Linked DNA regions of Homo sapiens: region 2 is linked to region 1. Evidence: promoter capture Hi-C in human tissues and cell types (Jung and others, 2019). All regions are on one chromosome and are shown on one strand. The core of a region is centred on a gene start or on the middle of the fragment in contact, and the rest is flanking DNA. Distances in the headings are between cores, read along the strand shown.

What was found. The method cuts DNA at HindIII sites, captures the fragments that hold promoters and counts their contacts. A contact is called where the count stands out against the background at its distance.
Region 2: a contact is called between a fragment that was not itself captured here and the fragment with the promoter of TPM1 in region 1, in 1 of the 25 tissues and cell types used here (lymphoblastoid cells).

What each region holds. Positions count from the first base shown.
Region 1 is chr15:63,041,208-63,043,996 of GRCh38, forward strand. It overlaps TPM1 (tropomyosin 1), which reads left to right and starts at 1,540. Exons shown (of 10, transcript NM_001018005.2): 1 at 1,540-1,736. The coding sequence starts at 1,623. RefSeq lists enhancers at 484-1,398, 2,312-2,789. The HindIII fragment of the contact is 3,976 bases long and covers 1-2,602 here.
Region 2 is chr15:64,062,712-64,065,500 of GRCh38, forward strand. No RefSeq gene overlaps it. Among named protein-coding and RNA genes, the nearest start is that of DAPK2, 18 kb to the left of the region's middle. The HindIII fragment of the contact is 3,825 bases long and covers 1-2,789 here.

The DNA of each region.
Region 1 (2,789 bases), core at 290-2,789:
ATCTAATGTTCTGACCATTAGGTCAGTGTATCTTTTCCCTCCTGGGCAGTTAGGTTAGTGGAAGAAACCCGATAAAATCTTGGAGAGGAATTTGATCATTCTCTGAAGGACTTACAAGTTGTTTGGCCTGCCTAATCTGCTCAGATACCGTCCGGGGAATATTTGGTAACCATGCAGTACAGACTGTGAATTATTCTGTGGGGACTATTAACAAGACCCTCACCAACCCTGCCTCAGCTGATCTCAGGGCTTGGGGGCAGCCCCCTCTCCTCCCCTCCCACTGAAGCTCTGAAAAAAAGCAGCCTTTCCCCCTTGGGAGATGGGAGGAGTAGTTAAAAATAAGAAGTGTTGGGGGAAATCCTCCTCCTTCCAAGCACAGCTCACACGGCAGAGCCTCCTCAGAGTTGCGGCTGCGGATGCAATGACTTAGCCAGGTTAACGCCGATCCCATGTTTTCCGAAACCTGGCACCTAAGCATCTAACATGGAAGGCCGACTCCCTAAAATCAGTGCAAGAAAAATGATAACAAGTTATATCTGGAGGGACCTCGGGGATTATCTACCCGCTGGATTTAAAGTTGAGGAAGCCGCGGGCAGCAAACAAGGTCTCACAGTTGCTGGTGGCAGAGTAGAGACCACAGACCAAATTGCCTGAGTCTAAACTCAATGTTCTTTCCCCTTAGACTGCCACCCGCACACACACGCACACATGCACACCTTTTTGGAGGCACTGCACAGCAAGCACAGAAGTACGCCACTGAGTCCTGTGTCCCTAAAGTATTTGACTGTCCCTCCGCTGGGGGAAAGGGCAGGCAGAAAACAAGACTCCGTGTGCTGTCGCTGTGCCGCCCCCTGCCTCTCTGACCCGCGCCCGCAGAGAAAGTCTCAAGAGCCGCCCCAGGCTTTCTCCCACGTTCTCCCTTTCTCTGCTGCAGTTGAGTTTCCAGAGCGTGAGCGCGCAGGATGACACCTGGCTGGCTGAGAGCTGCCGGGGAGGCGCTGGCGGGTGCCGAGAGCGCACTGACCCTGACGCGGGGTGCAGCACGGCTGGGAAGCCCCCGGGCCTTTGGCTAAGCGCGCCGGGGGACGGCACAGGGGGGCGACGCGCATCCACCACCTGGTCCGCGCTCTCCCGGCCTCCGGCAGCTCAGGGCGGGCTCGGTTGGGGACCCTAATGGCTGGGTGCCGGCCCTGGGAGAAGGGCACGCGGAGGGCGGAGGGTTGCGCCTCGGCCCCGGCTCGGCCCCAACGCCCTCTCCCTGGCGCGCAGGTTTAGAAACAGGGCGGCCTCTCCGGCCGCCGCCTCGGCGGCTCGGGTCCCCATATATAGTCATATCCACCGTCAACTGGGAGGCCGGCGGCCGGCAGCGAATGGGCGAGCGGCCCCCGCGGGAGGAGCGGGGAGGGGGCACGGGGCGGAGGGAGGAGAGGAGGAAGGGGGGCAGGAGAAAAAAGCTTTTCCAAAAAAGTATTGGCTGTCTTGAGGAATGCGGTCGCCCCCTTGGGAAAGTACATATCTGGGAGAAGCAGGCGGCTCCGCGCTCGCACTCCCGCTCCTCCGCCCGACCGCGCGCTCGCCCCGCCGCTCCTGCTGCAGCCCCAGGGCCCCTCGCCGCCGCCACCATGGACGCCATCAAGAAGAAGATGCAGATGCTGAAGCTCGACAAGGAGAACGCCTTGGATCGAGCTGAGCAGGCGGAGGCCGACAAGAAGGCGGCGGAAGACAGGAGCAAGCAGGTCTGCGCCTCCCCGGCCCTGCGCCCGCGCCCAGAGCGCCGGGACTCGAGCCTGGCACCCCCGGCTGGATCCCCACCCCGAGGACTCGGGGAGCCACCACCCTACCCCCACCACCACCCAGGGCGGCCAGGGCGCGCGTCTGGAAAGAAGGAAGGGAAACGCAAGAGCCAGGCTTAGTCTAACTTAGTCTGGTCTGAGGACGCTTATTTCCCTTCTCTGGTTCCCATGGCCCGCGAAATCAAGTCCTAGAGGCGCTTTATTCTCAGGACTGGGAATCAGTTTGGGGGAGGGAGGAGGACACCCGGTTCCTGGGGACGTTTGAAGGAAGGGCGAGGGATGGAGAAAGGGGGTCGAGTAACTCAAGTGTTAGAAGTTCGTTGACTTTTGACTGGGGAGAAAGGAACCTTAAACTTGGGGAGGAGAAGGGAGTCCTGGAGTTGTTACCTAAGAACAAAGATGGGGCGGAATGGAGGCTACAGCCCGAAAGCCAGGCCAGCAGTGGCGTTCTTCTGTGTCCCCAAGTAGTGGACTTGAGCCCGCTGAGACCTCGGCAGGAGTCTCGTCCCAGGGCAGGTGGGTGTGCGGGGTGAGCCGCGGAGCGGTTCCAGCTCGGGTAAAGAGGAAGTTACCTCGGGTCCTTTGCACTCCAACTCGGCGGCGCCCCGAGCCCGAGGGGCCCCAGCCAACCCGACGCCCGTGTGTTGTGTGTGTCTAACACCCGGTCCGTGCCGGCCGCCCGCGCCCGCCCGCCGCTGCCCCCAGCTCGAGGAGGACATCGCGGCCAAGGAGAAGTTGCTGCGGGTGTCGGAGGACGAGCGGGACCGGGTGCTGGAGGAGCTGCACAAGGCGGAGGACAGCCTCCTGGCCGCCGAAGAGGCCGCCGCCAAGGTACCCGGGGCGCGCGGCACGGCGTGGCGCACGAATGGCTAACTCTTTCTCTTTCTCTCTCTCCCTCCCTGTCTTTCCCTCTGTCTCTCCCGCTGTCCCTGTCCTTCTGGTTCTGTGCACCCACACCCCTCCCCTTCGGGATCACGCTGCCTGCTGCACCCCCCT
Region 2 (2,789 bases), core at 215-2,714, 1.0 Mb after region 1:
CATTCCAGAAAAAAAATGAATAAGCATTGCATTTAATGCCCATTAATGCTCATTAAGTTTTTAGACCTATTAGTGAGTGCTGAGGTCCTTAAAGCTCATGCAGATTTCCTCAGCTTCATTTCTGTTCAACAACAGCACTTAGTAAAGGGTAATGTATTCTTTTGCAAAATCTTGCTAAGAGGAAAATAATTGCCAAGAGCATCAAACATTGCTAATGTGAAGACACATTAAACTGTAAATATCCTTCAGAAAATGATGAAAATGGCAAAATGAGTAAAATCATATCTTGATTATTGTGTCCAGCTACGTCCCATTTATTTCACCAGGAAGTTCTATGTCTGTCAATCTACCTGGACCCTATTTTCAATCCACAAAATAGATAAGGAACCTAGAAAATTTTGCACTGTGTTCTGTTAATTCACTTTAATCAATAGGGAAAATGACTTGCCCAAATCACGCTGCTGATTTTTGGCAAATGCTCGACTGGAAATCAGGCCTCTTCCGGTATATCCTAAGCCCATAGGTCCTGACCCCATGGCCTCTGATTCTTCCATGCTATGTGAGTATGGACACGTCACTCAACATTTCCTGGCCTCAGTGTTCTTACCTGTAAAATGAAGTTGGAGAATTAGATTAACACAAAATTAGCCCTCACTGTCCCTGATGGTAGCCACGTTTTTCAGTGGGAGAAATGTAGGTCTCACAAGGCTCTGCAACTTGGTAAGTTTCACCTTGCAAGGCAATCTTGCACACATACTCACTTTACATTCTGTCTCATCTGAATAGACTCAGCTTAATGTAGCCAAAAAAAAACAAAAACCAAAACAAAAAACACCCACAGTTGTGACAGCCTGAGGCATCCAGCTACAAGAAAACTCAGTTGACAGGACCCAGTTTAGCTAAATTTGCTTAATCAGAACAACAACAAAAAAAGCCTAGGAACCATAACACTCCTTAAAAAACAAAAAGCAGGTCGGTAACGGTGGCTCATGCCTATAATTCCAGCACTTTGGGAGGCCCAGGCAGGCGAACCACGAGGTCAGGAATTTGAGACCAGGCTAGCCAACATGGTGAAACCCCATCTCTACTAAAAACACAAAAAATTAGCTGGGCGTGGTGGCGGGCACCTGTAATCCCAGCTACTCGGGTGTCTGAGGCAGGAGAATTGCTTGAACCCAGGAGGTGGAGGTTGCAGGAAAAAAAAAAAGCAAACACACACACACACACACACACACACACACACACTCACACACAGAGAGATTTATTAAGCTAATAAGTTTTGGTAAAAGGTCATGATCATTTTTAATTCTGCATGAATCAGTGGATTAGCAACTGTAGACCAAACTCAGTATTAATCTCGCTTGTTGTTAATGATGCTAAAGGATCCTCGGAACCCCTAGAAAGCCAACATTCACTGTGGCTTCTATAGTTAGACATTCAAAACCAGAAGGAACTTTAGAGATCACCTAACACATTAACTTTATAGAAGACAGAAGGAGGCCCACCAGAGCAAGAGTGACTTACCCAAGTTCACACTTGCCTGGGGCAGAGCCAAGATTAAAGGTCAGGCCTCTTGACCCCCAGCTCAGTGGATATTCCTCATGTGAAATGCTAAAGGCTGAAGCCCTGGGTAAAGCCAGATCCACTCATTATGACCAAGGTGAGCCTGAAATAATTCAACAAGAAATGTTGGAAGGCCAATATGCAAAAAACACACCAGTAGCTGTAGGAGACACCTGAGGAGACATGAAATAGAAAATACATTAGAAATAGCTAAGAATGTGAGCAGTGGGCTACAGCTCCAGCCCCCAAGAGTTTGGATAAAATCAAGGGAAACTTTCCCAAGAGAGAAAATACATTGTATTTCCCACCTTAAAAATATATTTTTAAAAATGGTTTTATAAAAGACACATATACCACAAGAGGTGTTTTGGTTTTGTTTTAAAGACAAGGTCTTGCTGTGTCACCAAGGTGGGAGTACAGTGGTGCAATCACAGCACACTGCAGCCTCGACCTCCTGAGTTCAAGTGACCCTCCGCCTTAGCTTCCCTAGTACCTAGGATGGCAGGCACATGCCACTATGCCCAACTATTTTAATTTATTTTTGTAGAGACAGGGTCTTGCTATGTTGCCCAGGCTGGTCTCAAACTCCTAGCCTTAATCGATCCTCCCACCTTGCCCTCCCAAAGTGCTGGGATTACAGACGTGAGCCACTGTGCCCTGCGTACATGAGTCTTTTTTGGTGTTTTAAATAATATTTATTAGGGGTTATCAACTTATCAAAAGGAAACATTCATTGCAGATAAACTTTTTAAAAGACAGAAATAAAATACTCTTAAAATGTTGATATTTCTTCTATTTTTATACATAAATACACTCTTGTTTTTAATTGGGATCACTTGGCATATATTATTTTGTATCTTGCCTGTCTTAATTTTGTCTTGAGAATTTCCCATGTAATTAAAGAGTCTTTGAAAACATCAAGATTCCATTAAATAAGTGTAGTATCAATTATTTAATGCCTTACATGTTGTTAGTCATTAAGTTGCACATTTTTCATGATAAAAAATGATGCTGTGATCATCATATGATTCATAACGTAGGGTTTGAAAATAATGGTCATGGATAAGATAAACTATTCAATAAGGGATGTCAAGACAATAACTAGTCATCTGGATACAAAACTGAGTTGGTTCAGCATTTATACCAGTATAAATTCTCAGTAGTCTGTACTGAGTATTTATACTGAGTATTTAGTAAATTATACTGAGTACTTATGCCAGTGTAAA